5 separate regions of the Homo sapiens genome follow, and regions 1, 2, 3 and 4 are each linked to region 5. The links are contacts of gene promoters, found by promoter capture Hi-C in blood cells and fetal thymus (Javierre and others, 2016). All regions are on one chromosome and are shown on one strand. Each heading gives the region's core, a stretch centred on a gene start or on the middle of the fragment in contact. The rest is flanking DNA. Distances are from core to core; before and after follow the strand shown.

Region 1 (3,375 bases), core at 685-3,184, 1.3 Mb after region 5:
GCAGGAAGTCATTATCAGGGAGATGCCTCCAGGTTTAGCTGTTGGGGTAGTCCTTGTTCTTTCCCCAGTTCCATTGATTTTGTGTGAGGAGATGTCAGTGGCCACTCCTGCTTTACCAAGTCACACTAGCCTTGGCGATCAGGATTTAGGTGAGAATTCCAAATTCCAGGAGTATTTCAGCTGGAGCCACTGGCCAGTGTTCTCTCTGAGCCTCCACATAAGCCCCTCCTTCTTTTCCCCTGGTGTCCCTGCTCTGCTAGTCACATAGCTCCTGCCACTGCTAGCACCCAGTCTGTAGCTCCGATAACCATATTTGTTAGAGGTTTCCCCACTAGAAACAATTATTTTAGTCCTTCTTCAATGCCCAGGCTGCTAAGTCTAGCGCTGCCCTCTTCCCCTGCTCTGTAATCCTTCCTTCCCCTCCTTTTAAGAATTTTTAAAAACGATTCCCTAGGAGCTGGCCTGGGTCAGAGGGCCTTTGAGTGGCAGCACCTGGAGTCATTTGGATAGCATTTCTCCCTGAATCAAACTAGTCCTCCACGGCTAGATGCTCGGACTTAAGGTATTACTTGTTGATTTTTTTATATTCTTGTGTGCCTCTGAGAGTCTAGCACCACTGCCCTTGAGATCTAGATCCCCCTGCAAGTTAAGGCAACCTTTGGCTTTTCTTTTTGAAAGTCATAATCTTAGTGTCTTGGTGGCTGAACCATCAGTCAGTTCCAAAGTTCCCTTTATCATTTCTCACAAGGAATTTAGGGCTCCTACAGGTAAGACATTTGTTGATCAGTCCCAACAGCCTAGAATTCCCTAAATGAATGTACATATTAGGTACTTATCCAAACTCTTTCCATCTGAATAAAATAAAACGTGGTGTCTGAGGTTCATTTTTTGTTTTATATCTCTCCTTGTTGATTTATATGTTTAGAAACTAGATATGTATATTTGTCTGTATGAATAGCTGTATATGCTCTATATTGTATTATACTAAACATGTGTCTCCATTAAGTCTAAGCTTTCTTTTCCTCATCACTTCGTTCTCAGAACTCCCGTTCTGACTTATATTTAGCCTGGCAATAGGCTGACGCATGTCTCAGATGCGAGTACTTACACCTTTTAACATAGTTAGAATTGGGAATCCCACTCATCATTCCTGTTTTTATTTGCTCTCTCAGAATGGTCATTGTGTATTTCCTTGTTGCATATGTGGTTACTGGCCTTGAACTCTGGATGTAGTGGTTATCAAGAACTGCAGATTGATCTCTTCTGTATTTTCTTCCTGTCCTTGAAAATACTACCAACTTCTGTTGTTCCTTTTGACATAAAACCAAATAATCAATGTTATGTTTTTGTGCTTGTTCCCCACTTGATTCATCTGCAGAAGTCCTAGGTAGGAGAGTTTCTGTATAGCCATATTTTTATTTAGGAATCTAAGTACAGCAAATCAACTTTGGACTAAGCATTAGGAAATCTGTGTTTTTGGCTTGGTTGGGTTGTTGAATTGCTTTGTAAACTCTGTGCTTGCTTAGACTGCTTGCCTAATCAGTTTGGTTCTGTTTCATAATGCCACTACTAGATAGTTCAGTATCTGAAGCATCTAGGTTGCTTCTAGTCACCATGGAGACTTAACAGAAGGCTTGGTGTAAATAAGGGTAGCACCTGTGAGGGTAGCACAGGTGAAACAGTACCTGTGTAATGCAGGTGTTGGAGATGCATGGGGATAGGTATTGCTTGTAAAACAAGAAAGCCTGAAGTCGGGTATAGGTGAACATATTGTTTCTACTGGTAACAGTGCCATGGACCCATTTCTTTCTTCTTTAACAGTGACTCTGGACTTCTAAAACTTCAACTTATTATCCATCTCTTTTGCCTCTCTCCTCTCCCTTTAACCATGGTTAGACCTCTTCTTGCTTCACCTCTGTTAGAGATTGAGCAGAGGCAGGAAGAATGAAACCCAGAAAAGTCAACTGAATTTTTAGCAATACCCTTAAAAGATTTCGAGTGGGACGAAGGTTTTAACTATTCATATTACCTATGTCTTATTCTTTGTGTAACTGAAAATTTGTCAGTTTCTTCTTACAAATACATTTTTATTAAAATATGTTTTCATTTAACCAGTCTTCACCTATATCACATAGTTATCCCAGTGGCCCCAAACTTAACCAAATGGATGATTAAAGGGTGACTGATTCTAAAATTATGATCTAGAGCCAATTAATTTGTTCACAAAGAAAAATAAAAATAATAAAACCGGGAAATTACTTGGAGTAACCACAAACCAGATACAAAGTAAAATTAGCTACTTCTGACAAACTATTGCTTTGCTTTTAAAATTCTCACTTGCTTTACTTAATTAGTATATATAGACCAAACGAACAATGAAAAGTTACTTATTTTGGTTTTTGATCAGTTCAGTGTCTTGGCTTTTGACAGTTTTTAACTTTAACTTAGTTTACGCTCTGAAATTCAATCCTAGCAGCTCATTTGTGCTCCAATTTGGGGACTACTTGCATAAAAGAAGTCTCTGGAAAGCCTATATAGCATTGACTGTCAAATTAATGATATTCTATTCTCATTTGTAATCCTTTGCTTTATAACCTTATGACCTTGGAAAAAGTCACTCCTTTGTTTATACCTGTTTTCCATCTATACATGTGTAAATATTCTACTCTTTACTCCTCTAAATGAGACTATAAACATTTTTTCAAACATCTTAAAAACTTGAATATACTGTGTGAAATGGTTCTTTACTTAATGTTTGACTTAGGAAGGCAGAATTGCTGTTGTATGATTGAGTCCCAGAAAAGCTGATTACTAATTGGCCTGGTACAAGAGTGTGTCTCTGTTCAATAAGCTTATTTAATATTTTAGTGTAACCTTAATAAAGTTTACTAAAGTTTTATGTTATTTAAGACTATGGAGATATGCATGTTTCATATTTTCCTAACAGTTAACCAGTATTACTTTCCAAATTTTTAAATGCTCAATGCTATTTTAAGAAAGATATATTTAGACATATTACTGAACATATAAATATATTTATGATTACTCATTACTTTTAATTAATACTTTTTAATCTTTGGTTCTTATTTCTAAAATAAGCTTTCTTAGAAGATAATTAAACATTGTGTTTTTTCTTTTAGGGGTGAAGAAAAAGCAATTTATACTATGCTTTTTCTGAATTTAAGTTCTGGATCACAGAGCAATTCTGTGGTAGGAGATGATATCATGTAAAAATATGCTGGAGGGGCTGGGCGCGGTGGCTCACTCCTGTAATCCCAGCACTTTGGGAGGCTGAGGCGGGTGGATTGCCTGAGCTCAGTAGTTCGAGACCAGTATGGGCAACACGGTGAAACCCTGTCTCTACTAAAATACAAA
Region 2 (3,409 bases), core at 652-3,151, 1.2 Mb after region 5:
TCCCCAGTGTATGGCATTAGTAGCTTCCCTCTAGGTAAGCAAATCTCTGGATGCACCTGTCTCTCTACCGTGTTAAGCTGGCAGCTTGTTGTGCAATCACACTTCCCTGATGATTCCAGGAAAAGTCACTGATTTTCAATTTGTCCAGCTTTTCTTTTAAAGACGGGAATGATGGCTTCCTAGCTGTTTACATGCTTGAGCTAAAACTCAAAGTCCCTACTTAATGTTTTATATTTTCAAAATGTGCTTTTTTATTTTAATGGATTCTATTGAACATTCCTTATCCACAGAAATCTTCTTGAGTCTTATTTTGTTGTATTTTGTGATCGCCGTGACTCTGAAACTACTTTTTTCTTTTTTTTTTTGACAGAGTTTCACTCTTGCTGCCCAGGCTGGAGTGCAATGGTGCAATCCTGGCTCACTGCAACCTCCGTCTTCTGGGTTCAAGCAATTCTCCTGCCTCAGCCTCCCAAGTAGCTGGGATTACAGGCATGTGCCACCATGCCTGGCTAATTTTTGTATTTTTAGTAGAGACAGGGTTTCACCTTGTTGGTCAGGCTGGTCTTGAACTCCTGACCTCAGGTGATCCACCCACTTTGGCCTCCCAAAGTGCTGGGATTCAGGGGTGAGCCACCACACCCGGCCAACTCTGAAAGTTCTAAGCAGCAGACTTTTCCTAGCTCTGCAAAGAAATAACCAAAGAGCTCTTGGCCTCTAGCTAGACCACATACCTCTTGTTGCCTAGCTTGGAATTCCACACTGCTGCCCACTCCCTTTTGGAACCCATAGAACACTTACATGCAACATGCATCCTGGAAGTAAAAGAGAGTGGTGACCAGGGGACCATCTTTGACTAATGGAAGGAAAGAAGCCGATGGATAAATGTTTTTCTCTTTCATCTCCCAGGGACATAAGGATTTCAAAAGGCCCTCAGAACATCCTGGTGAGACCGAACTCCCACCCTCGCAGCAGAGGCCAGTTCAACAACTCATTCTTGTATCTGCTTCCTGATCTACTCCCAAATTTCTGCTCCCTGAAATCATTTTCCAGAGGATTAGCCCATATGAGAACCTTCGTCTTGGGCTTTGCTTTTGGAGAACCCAGGCTAAGATATAAGATTATTTAAAAGAAAAAATTTATAACATGTCTATAAATGGATAAAAACAGCCATTTGCCATTACAAAGATGAATTCTTCCCTTCCATGACTTTCCAAAACTTCTTTGCCTGTAAATATCTATTCCTCTTAGCTCATTCTTCCCATCCTTCTGCATTTTGATAGCACATTATCAGTTGCATAAAATTATCTGTTCTTACCCACCTCCCTCTATATTTTGAGAAATTTAGAAGATAAGAAAAGAAAAGAAAATGATGCCATTAAGGACTATTCCTTATACTCTTATGTTAACAAAAGATTAGCAAGTGTTGAAAGCAGTACTCAAAGTGTGGTTTATGGACAGATTATTGGCCTACAAACTGCTTTTTTAGTTTACAAACACTTAATAAGCTTGCTCCAAATGTAAATTAACTAAATCACTATATACAATATTACAACTGACATTAAAAACAAATTTATGACTTCTTCAATGAAGAAAGCAAGGCATTGATTTACATTGCTGTGTCAGACTCCTGATCTCAAGAAGTACTGTCTCTTTGAGTAACACTGGATTACAGGATTAGACAGTTATCAAAGTACTAACGGTGGACATTTCTTAGTATGCACTCAGTTCTAAGCACTCTTTCATAGGCCCTACTGATATTACCTCATTTAATTCTCAAAAAAAAACCTTGCATATGAGGTAGGTTATATTATTATTCTCACTTTATAGGTAGAGAGACTGACGCACAGTGAAGTTTAATAATTTTCCCAACATTACAGAGCTAGTAAGTGGTAGTGGCAGCCTCCCAGGTGACTGACCCCCAGTGGTCTTTGCCTCTTGGTATTTACTCCCTTGTGTAGTCAGCTCCCATAGTGTATTTGTGACCAAAGCACACACAAGTGATATTGTGTGATTTTCAAGGATAGATCATAACAGATATTGTTCCTTTTGCCTTGCTCTCTGGCATCAGCTACTTCAAGGAAGCCAGCTTCCACGTCATGACAACATTCATGCAGCACTATGGAAAGGCAAGAAACTGAGGCCTCTGTCAGCAGCCAGCACCAACTTGCAAGCCATGGGAGGGGGCATTCTTGGAAGAGAATCCTCCTGCTCACTCAAGTCTTCAGATGACTCCAGCTCTGGCTAACATCATGACTATGATCTCATGAGAGATGCTGAGTCAGAACCACCAAGCTTAGACACTTCTTCATTCCTGACCCACATGATATGTGCAAGATAATAAATTTTTATTGGTGTCTTCCATCTCTAAGTTTGGGGCTAGTTTCATATCCAACAATAGATAACTAAAATAGCAGTAGAAAATCTGGCTCCAGAGCCTGTTTTGTTAACTGCTATGTGTACTATCTCTCAACTGAGAGTTTATCTTGGGTATATGAAGAAGGATTAAAACAGAATTGAAGGTAGAGAAGGAAATGACTTCCTTCCTATGTGATGTTATTTAATGCCAATATTGTGTACCAGCTACCCAGCTACCATCGTCTCCACTAACACCAGCAGCATGCATTCAAAACTCTAAGAGAAGAAGAGTAGACAAGAGAGTATGGGATTTGAAAGAAGATAGTCCGGAATTGAATCCCAGTTCAGTTCCTTCACTCATTTTGGGTATTCCAAAAAAGAGGCCATAATAACCAGTGAGAAAAACAACTTGTAAAGCCCAGTCTCTCTGAGCACAGCTGAGAGCTGGCTATATATATTTATTTGGGATGTATGGAGTTCAGGGATTCATGGAATTTCTCAGAAGTAGGGGTACTTACAGATTGGGTAATATTTAGCTGTATGCCTGAGTGACAGTCTTGCTGATTGGATGACTTTCAGCAGTGTTTGTGCTGATGCAAAATAGCTAATGACCAATTAGGAAAAGTTTAAAACCATGTCTGGCAATTGTTTCAAGGCCAAAGAACAATGAGCCCTTTCCTAAGAAGATAGGAACTTTCTGTTCTTCCTTAAGCCATTTCCCTTCAATGTTCTTACCTGTAAAATGGGGAGAATACAGACAACTATTTATCAAGGGCCTACTATGATACTTGCCACACGCTAATCAACTCAGCCATTGTATGGCAGCAGCTGCCATAAACCATAAGTACACAAATGTATGTGGCTGTATTCCAATAAAACTTTATTTACAAAAATAGGCAGCAGGCAGGATGTGGCCAGTGGGCAGTAGTCTGCCAGTTCTGCTCCAGGTTATCTTTAGTCCCAGCTGTGGCCTGCTCTTCTGCCTCTCCTAGCTTCTAGCTCTGCTGTCCCATTGATCTGTATTACACTTTCCCCTTTCCTTAAATGCTTTTCT
Region 3 (3,742 bases), core at 824-3,323, 1.2 Mb after region 5:
TTTTAAATAATTGGACTTTTACCCTTTTGGGGTCCACTTTATAATCTGCTGGTAGCTCCGAAAATGGGCGTGAATACAAAAATTTGCATACAATTTTAGGGAGTTCCATGAATCCTCAGGTAAAAGCTCTTTGATGTGATAGTTGTATCACTTAGATACAATTATGGTTACTAGAAGGATTTAAGCTGCAAATAACTGTAAATCCAAGCTCACACTGCTTTGAACAAGAAGCAAATATACCTGGAAGTCCAATTAGGCCTTATGTTCCAGACCGAACTGTGTTCCCTTTGCCCAAAATTTATATGTTGAAGCCCCATCCTCCAATGTGACTGTATTTCGAGATAGGGTAATTAAAGTTAAATGAGGTCATAAGGATGTTGCCCTAATCTGATAGGGCCAGTGTCCTCATAAGAAGAGGAAGAAACACCAGAGTGCTCTCTCTCTCTCCATGAGCACACACAGAAGAAAGACCATGCGAAGACACAGTGAAAAGATGGCAAGCCAGGAAGAGAGGCCTTACCAGAAACCAACCCTTCTGGTACCTTAATCTTGAACTTCCAGCCTCCAGAACGATGAGAAAGTAAACTTCTATTGTCTAAGCCACCCAGTCTGGGGTATATTGTTATGGCAGACCTAGCTGACTAATGCATCTTTCCAAAATTGGCAACTCTCTAAAGCCTTCTGTTGGCTTCCTGCAAAAGTTGTGTTACTCAAGGACGACACGACTATGGCTCTGATGCGGACAATGTTGCAAAAAGCCCCGAGGCCCATTAATAACATGAAAGATAGCAGCTGATGCGTATTGAGAACTTACCATGTCCCAGGTGCCATACCGTGTGCCCTACATATATTATCTCATTTAATTATTATGATAGGAATAATTGTCCCTATCTAACAAGAAAAAAAGAAAACTGAAGGTATTTGACTCCAAAAGCTTTTCTCTTTCCATTATGCATCCCTAGTTTGAGTAACTAGGCTATAGTATGGCCCAAAACTGTACCCCCAAAGGCTGGGCTCATTGAAGGGGCCCCAAGTTCACAGTCATCTCTGATCCCACATTCAAACACTCACCCAGTCTTTCTGCAGATGCCCAAGATGAACCCTTAGACCTGTGTAGTGACAGATGCAAATTTGTTCTCTGGACTCAGATGTGCAGAAAAAAATAACTATTCCACCTAATACCTGTCTACACCCAATGGATAGTAGAAAAAAATCTAAATTTGCAACACTCTTCCAGTTTAAAACAATGTCATTTCAGATTAAGTACTTAGTCAGCCCAAATTTCATATATCAAAAAACTGAAACACATGTAATCCACTCTTCCCATTATTAAAACTTAATGATGGAGCTGAATTAAGAAAAAAGAGAATGTTATGTAGGGGTGTCAGATGCCCGGTCCCTGCCTCCTCTAGACTGTGGATACCAGAAGGAGTCCTGGGAGAGAGGAAAAGACAAGAATGAGAAACCCATCCTCACTTCTGGTCCCAAGGGGATATAGTGGAAGTGCGAGTAGACCAGCAGCCAAAGAGACAGCCTGTCCTTGTTTCCCCTCTCTGGGCTCTGGCTGGGAAATAGGGAAGGGTGCATCCCTAAAAATCCCTAAAAATGGGAAAGGGGAGGGTGCATCCAAGAAGGTATAGGACGCCAAGGAAAGACGGCACTTGCCTCACTTACACATGTGGCTCTGAGGGGCGATCACCTGCCAGAATGCCCCATCACCACCATTGAAGAAATCATCTCTGAGTGCATTTGACATGTCAGGCACTGATCCAGCACATCAGACAAGAAGATGACCATATTTTAATTGCATGCACATGTGTGTGTGTATATGGATTTTTGGATCATTTGATTCTATTAAACTTCCTGAAAAAAATATAAATTTTAGAGATTAAATAGTAATTTCACCGCACCAGGGGCACTTTGGGATTTAAAGACCGTTTTTAAAAGAATCCTTTTGTAAAGTAAAGGTTAAGTCCCCAGTTGTTTGCTTTGTTTTGTTTTTAATGCAAACTCAGATTTTTCCTATACATTTGGTTTACTTAAATTATACACACACACACACACACACACACACTCACACACAAAAATATCTCAATTCCCTTGGCAGCCTATGATATTTGCTTCATTTATCAGATTGGAGGAAGGAGAAATATTGAAGAGAAGAGGAAGATGAGATGGGTAATTCGTGCTGTGGAATTTTTAAATAAAATTTTCCTAGAACAATCACATTTTCACATTTGCAGTTTATATTGTTTTTCTGTCATGAGTGGCTTAGAAACTAAACAAACAAACAAACAAAAACCTACATCACAGGAAAGGTAATGGAACAAACTGAAACGCTGGTTTAGAACCACGAGTTTAGTGGGAGTGTATTATTATACTTCCTTAATTCTGCCACGTGGCAAGGTTTTCTATGTGATTAATGAGCCACCATTGTACAACATTACCAGAAGGCAAACAATTCCAATTACCGATAGAGCTAAACCATAATTACCATGCAAATGATTTCAATAATGTAATAGAATGGAATATCTGGTCATTACAGGGCAGACAATTCACAATGTTAATTGGGGGCAGTCTGTTTTCAGAGAGTAAATAATATTAACAGTAATATAAATCCAAACTAATATTAGGTTTGACTTTGCTTATGATCAAGAGGAATGGTCTACTTCCGAAATTACGTTTACATTACAAAGACAAACCATACTTGCTTCGGTTTCTATCATAAGTAAAATGATTTGTATCGAAAATACTGGGAAGCAAAATGATACTGAGATGAGATTGAAAATTTGAGAAAAGAGGTCAGCAATTGAAGGCCTTTAGGCAAGAATTCAGACATGGGAATAGACAACCTCTAATTCCCAGAGTCGCCTCCTGGGGGCAGGAGATGATGGTTGAGAACTCCGAAAATAGGGGAGAACAAGAAAAAAGAAAACTGCTGTTAAGTCATCCTCTTAAATCCTACTTTTCCTCTCATTCTTTCTTCTATTATCCAAGTTTTAATCTTACATGACCACCTACTTGGTCTATTGTAATAGTTTTCAAGTCAGTTTCCTGCTCACTCCCTCCTCTTCCCCATTCATACTTACCTCTTCCCCATTCTGTGCAATATCAGTAGAAAAACATGAAGTTCTTCCCTCCCACTACTAAAGTCCCAATACTTTCTACTTCTGTTCTGAAATACCCAGAGGCTCCTTCCCCAAGAAGCTTCCTCTCACCATTCTGTACAGTCCCTAGGAAGTGCATGGTCCAACTTGGCCATTTATATTCATTCTTCCAAGGCTCCCAAGGCTCCCAAGGCTCAGAAGAATTGGGGTTTTTTTGCTCCAGCAGCAGTGCCCTGAATTTTGTGAAGTTCCTGTTGCTTATACTTCCACAGTAGACATAGTTTATGTTCGTGGCTCCTCCCATCCTATTTTTAAGCTTGATTCTCCAGTTTCCCTCTTATTACCTAATCCATACATCCCTCTAACAAATTCCCCTTTTATAAGATCTTGGCCAGAGTTCATTTTTGTGGCTTTCCAAAGAGGAACCCTAACTGATACACCTCTCCTAAGAAATTTAAGCCAGATCCACATGGCTTCCCCTGATAGGAGGGAAGACAGTCATGATTATCTGGCAAATTGGGGCTGTTTCTAAGGATTGCTTGCGGTCATTTTAAATTGGAAAATATCCTGTGAGTAGATGACATAATCAGATGCAGTGGAGGTAGTGGTTAAGAACCAAGCTCCGGAGCCAGGCC
Region 4 (3,822 bases), core at 723-3,222, 1.1 Mb before region 5:
CATTTGACCCAGCAATCCCATTACTGGGTATATACCCAAAGGATTATAAATCATGCTGCTATAAAGACACAAGCACACGTATGTTTATTGCAGCACTATTCAATAGCAAAGACTTGGAAGCAACCCAAATGTCCATCAATGATAGACTGGATTAAGCAAATGTGGCACATATACACCATGGAATACTATGCAGCCATAAAAAAAGATGAGTTCATGTCCTTTGTAGGGACATGGATGAAGCTGGAAACCATCATTCTCAGCAAACTATCACAGGGACAAAAAACCAAACACCGCATGTTCTCACTCATAGGTGGGAATTGAACAATGAGAACACATGGACACAGGAAGGGGAACATCACACATCAGGGCCTGTTGTGGGGTGGGGGGAAGGGGGAAGGATAGCATTAGGAGATATACCTAATGTTAAATAACTAGTTAATGGGTGCAGCACACCACCATGGCACATGTATATATATGTAACTAACCTGTACATTGTGCACATGTACCCTAAAACTTAAAGTATAATAATAATAAAAAAGAAATATACTCACACACACACACAAAAACAGAAGAAAAATACTTGTCCCCAATGATGTATATCTCTATAATGACTGGAATTCTCATTTCTCCATCATTTTTTCTTCAGACACAGCTGAATAAAAACTCAGATATTTTTGTTCTTGATGAAGATCCAATTCGACCACTTCTTTTATGTATATTTCTCCCTTCTTTCCTCCATCCTCTCCTCCTTTCCTTCCTTCCTTTCCTGCTTGTTTCTTCCCTGTTTCCATTTATCCATCCATTTTATAAACATTGATTTTAGAGCCTATTATACATCAGAAACTATGTAGAAATGTGACCATAAGTTGCGTTCTATCTGGGTCGGATAATTAAGAAGCAGGTAAAATGCAGTGTAGTTAATTCTCAGGTAGAAGTGGGAGTGGAATATTACGGGACTAGAGTGAAGGACCATCATCCAGTCCGGGCTGGGTAGAAAACACCTTACAGACAGGCTCAGCATAGAGACTAGAAATCCTGGGCAGAGACTGCAGGAAACAGCCCAGGGCAAGTGGGTATATTTCATCCGCCACAAAACAGCCACCTAATCTGACTGATCCCTAAAAATATATACTTTTTGAACAACATAAGTAATACACAAATGCGTTTTTAGTATACAAATTCAATCAAAAACTCAGAATATGCAAGAACAGTTTTAAAGTTCATGTTTTCTTCACTGGAGCCCTTTCAATCTTTTCACTTATAATAATTTTTAACTATATGGCTATGTAGACGTTCATAAGTTTTCTAAGTATATACATACATACACACATATTGTCTATATATATATGTGTGTGTATATATATATGTATATATATATATATATATACACACACACACACACACACACACACCACATTGTCTGTATAAATAATAAAAAAGTTGGCCAGGTGCGGTGGGTCACACCTGTAACCCCAGCACTTTAGGAGGCTGAGGCAGGCGGATCATGATGTCAGAAGATCCAGACCATCCTGGGCAACATGGTGAAACCCCGTATCTACTAAAAATACAAAAATTAGCTGGGTGTGGTGGCGCGCACCTGTAGTCCCAGCTATTTGGTAGGCTGAGACAGGAGAATCGCTTGAACCCGGGAAGCAGAGGTTGCAGCAAGCCGAGATCACGCCACTGCATTCCAGCCTGGTGACAGAGTGAGACTCCATCTCAACAACAACAACAAAAAGCTTTCTAAATATATACATACATTATATATAAATAATAGAAAGGAAGTTAGATATATAGTGATATATGTATACATAGGCATACATTATATATGTGTATATGTACACATATATATGACTATACATATTCTGTAACTTCCTTTTTTATTGAAAATATCTTGGAATGCTTACATGGCCTATGCAGATATCATTCTTTTAAATACCTAAAGAGTATCATTTTTTGCATAGAAGTGATATGTATTCACGCATTTATAGTAAGAAAAACACCATTAACACTGAAAAATGTAAATCAAGGTTTCCCCAATCCTCCCCAAACTATTCATTCCTATCTTCATTCTTCATAGCTAATCTCTCTTAAGTCTTTGTATATTCTCCCAGAAATATTGTGTGTGTGTGTGTGTGTGTGTGTGTGTGTGTGTATGTGTGTGTGTGTGTGAGAGAGAGTATTCTCCATTTTTCCATAAGCTTAAAGCCAAGCTGTTCTCTGGTACCCAGGAGGACACAGGTTTTCCCTTTCCTGTGCTGCTTCTCCACCTGGCAAGATCTGTGTGTGAGGTGTATGGAGGTGGATCAGCTGTTCATCAAGCCATACTCAAGAATGTTCTGTTCAATGTAATGAGACCTCTGTAAATGCCAGTGTGAGAGGAATTATATTTCTGATGTGGAACATTCTTTTAATGGAGAAATGGGCTATGGGAAAAAGCAGAACATGCTCTTATTTCAAACATTGGGGAGAGAGATGGAAAATTTTTCTTGTAAATTATTCGCTATGTTAAACTAAGTCATTCAGAAAATGCATTTTAATAGGGCACATAAAATCAACAGGATCAGCAGGTAGAGCATCTATTTAAATTGCCACCTGCCACAAAGAAGCTAACACTGTATTCTCCAGCTGAAGATATTCAATTGTGTATGCTTTAGGGGTATGGGTGATTCTAGCTCCTGGTTGCATTATAATTTATAATAAATGAGGCATGAATTTATAGGGATTATTTATTTACTTTGAAGCAAATCTGTGATCCATGAATGACCCTATTACCAGTTAATAGGAGGAAAGAATTACTTGTTATTGGAATGAAATAAGAATAAGATCTAAACATGTAACATGCTTGACACGCATAGAGTCTTCAAAATATCTCCCCAAAAGGTTCATGTCAATAACATTCACCATAGGATACACAAAATATGAGCTCATTATCCATATATGAGAGAGGGAATAATGGATGTCTTCATATCTGACTTGTCCAATTTTACCTAAAATACTAGTGAGCAAGTGGGAACCAGGACACAGATCTTCTAATTCAGCCAAGCATAATTTTCGCCATAAAGATTCTTAAGTCTGTATTCAAATAATAATCATGCAAACTAATATTGGTGTAGCATTTTACATTTTAAAAAAGCAATTTTTCAGCAAACAATCAACATAATATCTTAGTTAAAAATGGTTGGGAGGCCGAGGTGGGCGGATCACAAGGTCAAGAGATCGAGACCATCCTGGCCAACATGGTGAAACCCCGTCTCTACTAAAAATACAAAAATTAGCTGGGCGTGGTGGCGTGTGCCTGTAGTCCCAGCTGTTCGGGAGGCTGAGGCAGGAGAATGGCTTGAACCCAGGAGGTGGAGGTTGCAGGGAGCCGAGATCGCACCACTGCACTCCTGCTTGGCGACAGAGCGAGACTCCATCTCAAAAGAAAAAAAAAAAGGTAATATTCACAGCATTTCTTCAGAACAATAAACTATGGACCAAGGAAATGAAAAAACTTGTTTCAGATCATACCCCTAAAAAGTGGCAGCATTCAAATAGCAGCACTTTGGTTAGCAAATCCCACTTTTCTCCCCGAAATTTTATGACACCATTACATCTAGAGTTGCGATGCATATATTACTGTATCTCCCTTACCTTATGAAATAGGGAAGCATGGAGATTCTCATCCTTATTTCCTAGAACAGAAACTTCAAAGTACCAATGATTTAAAGTTACAGTCACGCTAATGGGAGGATTAGCAGTTAGCACCCAATCAAGTACACTCAGCCCCTTTATGTGAGACAACCGTTTACCTAAACAATCACGATAGTTTGTGACTAT
Region 5 (3,755 bases), core at 1,118-3,617:
AGCAGTTTACATTTCTGTGAGCTGGGAATGGCAGGGGTCTGGTCATTAGGTTAATGCTGGCATGTGACTGCTGTTTAATCTTCTCACCCCATTCAAGTTTCAACGATTTACCTGTTGGGGTTCAGAAACCAACACCCCTAAAATATGAAGCTTTGTGAAGAAGTCTCAAGGTCTCTCTGGCCTCCCCTCTCCCTCGTGTCTCTCCATTCTTTGTCTGTCTCATAAGCACAGGATGAGGTTGTTCTCTGACATTCCCTTACCTGCCTACATCCAGACCTACCAAAGAAAAAGACCTCTGGTCCCTTCCCTGAGTGTTCATTAATTGTACCCATATCACAGGAAGAAAGACTAAAGTCTGTTAACACAGCTGGACAGACTTTTGTCACAAACCAATGTCTGCTCTGTGGGCTCAACAGACTTTGTCCCAGCTCACTGTATGTTCTTTAAGCCCATTGAATTTCCCTAAAAATAATTTACTAGTCCCCTAAAATCATCCACACTTCCCCATCTCTCTTTCCCCTAAGATGAAGAGGATACAACCACCTGTACCCCATTGAGATAGCGGACAATCACTCTGTGATTTTTCCCCTATGCATGCTAATAAATGTGTAAGCCATTTTCCCTATTAATCTGCCTTTTGTCAGTAGATTGTTTAGAGAACCTTCAGAGTGCAAAGGGGAAGTTTTCTTGACCCCTAAAGTCCCGAAGACATCCTTTATAGCAAAGCATCTAGTTCAGAATCGAGTAGTCCATGTAGTTGTCATGGTTAGCTTTTAGCATTTCTTTTTTTTATTTGTTTATGTGTGTGTGTTTTCAAGTTTTATGTTATAATTTTGATGGAGCTATTTGTTCAATATCCAGGGTCTAATCTAATTGCTAGGTAAATATAAATATGCCCAGACATATTGATCTTGAATATACATAACAAATGTAAATTTTTGTGTGTTTAAATGATGACAATTTGTATTATATTTGTCAACGGTTCCAGCTTTTTGTCCTTATAAATTTAATACGACATTTACCTTGGCCAGATTTCTATAAACTACTACAATACTGAAATATAGAAATCAAGGAATGAATACAATTCTGTATCACCCTACATTGGCATGGTATTGATTAATTACGGTTTTGTGCAGACACTTTTCACCAGTGATCTCATCGATTCAAAAGGCTTGCAGAATATTGCCTGTTTTGTTTTTTCCTTTCCAGAAGCCCGTTCCTAAGTCCAGCTTGGATTCCTGTTTGTGCAGACTGCTCTGCTTACATCCTGGGCAGCTCTGATGCTACACTGAATGCCAGCCAAAGTCGGTGCCCGCTCACGTTCACAGAGAACAGGCAAGTGCCTTGCTTGAGGTCTCCCCACCAGTAAACTTTCCAGTAGGGGTTTCAGCCAGGGTAGTCTGATTCCAGAACCCAAGCACAGTGCCCCTTTGCATTTTCTCAGACTATGAAGCTTTTACAAAAGTAGATGTGGAAAGGGTCATCATGCTTCCCAAAGGTTCAGTTCTGCAGGCAGCCTCCACCCACTTGTTGTGGTCATGTGGCATGGGTCTGGAGTCCGGCTCTACTGTTTCCTGGCTGGGTGACCTCAGGTAAGTTATGTAACCTCTCCAAGCCTCAGTGTACTCCTCTGGAAAATGGGAACATTAACAATTCCTTCTGTATAACTTTGTTGTAAGGCTTTAAGGAGACAAGTGGCGTGAGGTGCTTACAATGTCTGACACGTGTAAACTCTCAATATTTTAATAGTCATAATTAATAGAGGTAAACTGCAAAAATGCACAAATCCTTATTTCTAATGTTTCTATACATCTCTACAGAAAAAGAAAAGGAAGCAAGGAAGGAAGGAAAGATCTTTTTGATGTGGATCCAGAACCCTTGGCTCACTGTGGACTTTGACATTATGCCTGACGTTGAGGCAGCAGCCAAATTCCACAATGAGACATAAGCACTCTTACACATTAACAAAAATGAGTGCCTAGAATCAGCTTTCATGCTCCCAATATACTCACTCGTGAATTGGGATTGGCGGCCCCCAAGCCCACACTGCCGCACTTTACACCCTCGGAAGAGCCCGTAGTAAATGTCCCCAATGAACTTGACCAGCTCTCTGTCTGTGGCGTTGACCAGATCCACTCCAGTCTGACAAAGGATTTTCCCACTCAGCCAGTGGGGCACTACCAGGGCAACGATGATCAGGATGAAGGAGGAGAAGCTGAGTAAAGACGCCAGCCCATACCACGCCTTTTTGAACCATCCAGGCATGCTAGTGGGTGCAGGTCATCCCCAAGGTCTCCGAGCAGCAGCGAGGGTCATTGACATCTTTCAGATACTCGGCAATGCTCTGCTCCAAGGTCAGCTCTTCCAAACACTCTGTTTCAAGGTTGTAGGTCCATCCTCTCGTCCTCCTTCAGCGCAAGCTTGCACAGTCCATGCTTCCTACAACCACATCCAGAAGCCTCTACAGAGACAATCTTCACCTGACTATGTAGCGGAGTGTGTTACTGAAGGAAGTAACCTTATATCTCCTCCTAGACTAATGTTTCAGCAGACTGTTTAACTGTTCCTCGTTTCAAGTATTTAAATAGCCCTGGTGTGGACCTCGTAATGATAAAGGAGTTAGTAATAAGCAAAATCAGGTAGCTCTGAAGATTAAGAGACGCAAACCAATCTCAAAAAATGCATGTGTTAGAAGGAAAACAAAAACAGAATGATTAGCACTTGAATATTGCCAACAATGCGCAGTATCAAATGTCGATCTCGCTGATGCATGGGTGCCCTGGCATTTCTTTCTCTGAAATGTCACTGCTGTCAGAATCTTTAGGACTGTTATTAATACCATCAAATGACCCCGGTTCTTGGGGCTTTAATATTGAAATGTGTAAATAGGGCCTTATGAATTTCTCACTGTGTGAATCTGCTGGGGGTAAACTGTGACTAGAATTACTTTGTGGCTGTTGGGGTAGCCTGGAATCCAACACTTAACATTGCTCTCACCCGTCCCTCCTTCTACGTTATCTGAAATGGGAGAGAAAAGTGTTTTTCTAGTGTATTAGCAAATAGTAGCCACACTGCTGGGGTATTCATCTCTTCTAATAGTGGAAGATCTAGGCTTTCCTTTTAATCTGTAGATACTAGGAATGAAATATTCTTTCCTTTCTATCTTATACTGTGGACTTTGACATTTTGACTTTTACCTTATTCCTGAATATCAACTTAACATCATGTGAGACTGGCAACAGTCACTCTATCCATATCTCTGGGGAGCAAAGTTGGGCAAAAGTGGAGCAGTAAAATTTCTTAGTTGGTCACAGAAGCCTGAAGGGGGGTTCAGGAAGTTGCACTGTTAACCAATAGGGGTCCCAGGAATCTCACTTGGAGAGTGTCAAGGAAGCAGAGGGACACATTAATGGAAATGTCAGTTTCCTTCCTCGCAACTGGGGCTCACTTCAGTGGCCACTCCACAATGAAAATAAAAATGAGAATTTCTGAGCCTGGGCAATGTAGTGAGACCTTATCTCTACAAAAAATAAAAAAAAAAAATAGTTGGGCCTGATGGCGTGTATTTGTAGTCCCAGCTACTGGAGGCTGAGGCTGGAAGACTGCTCCAGCCCAGGAGCTCAAGGCTGTAGTGAGCTATGATCATGCCACTCTGAGTAACAGAGTGAGATCCTGTCTCTTACTATATATACAGATGAGTGGCACTTTACCATGTACAAAATGCAAAATGCTTTGACCATATGCTTGCTCACCTC

Evidence for each region. The method cuts DNA at HindIII sites, captures the fragments that hold promoters and counts their contacts. A CHiCAGO score of 5 or more calls a contact.
Region 1: a fragment that was not itself captured here is called in contact with the fragment with the promoter of CLRN2 in region 5 in 1 of 17 cell types (M1 macrophages); the score reaches 6.2 in M1 macrophages.
Region 2: a contact is called between a fragment that was not itself captured here and the fragment with the promoter of CLRN2 in region 5, in 1 of 17 cell types (M1 macrophages). The highest score is 5.2, in M1 macrophages.
Region 3: a fragment that was not itself captured here is called in contact with the fragment with the promoter of CLRN2 in region 5 in 2 of 17 cell types (M1 macrophages and M0 macrophages); the score reaches 8.3 in M1 macrophages.
Region 4: a contact is called between a fragment that was not itself captured here and the fragment with the promoter of CLRN2 in region 5, in 5 of 17 cell types (total CD8 T cells, naive CD4 T cells, activated CD4 T cells and 2 more). The highest score is 9.6, in total CD8 T cells.

Annotation. Positions count from the first base shown.
Region 1 is chr4:16,221,296-16,224,670 of GRCh38, reverse strand. All of the region lies in intron 1 of TAPT1 (transmembrane anterior posterior transformation 1), which reads left to right. Among named protein-coding and RNA genes, the nearest start is that of TAPT1, 3.5 kb to the left of the region's middle. The HindIII fragment of the contact is 1,839 bases long and covers 1,015-2,853 here.
Region 2 is chr4:16,293,501-16,296,909 of GRCh38, reverse strand. All of the region lies in intron 2 of LOC124900674 (a long non-coding RNA gene), which reads right to left. Among named protein-coding and RNA genes, the nearest start is that of TAPT1-AS1, 69 kb to the right of the region's middle. The HindIII fragment of the contact is 787 bases long and covers 1,508-2,294 here.
Region 3 is chr4:16,270,263-16,274,004 of GRCh38, reverse strand. No RefSeq gene overlaps it. Among named protein-coding and RNA genes, the nearest start is that of TAPT1-AS1, 45 kb to the right of the region's middle. The HindIII fragment of the contact is 2,273 bases long and covers 937-3,209 here.
Region 4 is chr4:18,593,845-18,597,666 of GRCh38, reverse strand. The region is part of intron 1 of LOC105374510 (a long non-coding RNA gene); the gene reads right to left. Among named protein-coding and RNA genes, the nearest start is that of LCORL, 570 kb to the right of the region's middle. The HindIII fragment of the contact is 462 bases long and covers 1,742-2,203 here.
Region 5 is chr4:17,513,777-17,517,531 of GRCh38, reverse strand. CLRN2 (clarin 2) reads right to left here and starts at 2,367. Exons shown (of 3, transcript NM_001079827.2): 1 at 2,013-2,367. The coding sequence starts at 2,265. The HindIII fragment of the contact is 967 bases long and covers 1,456-2,422 here.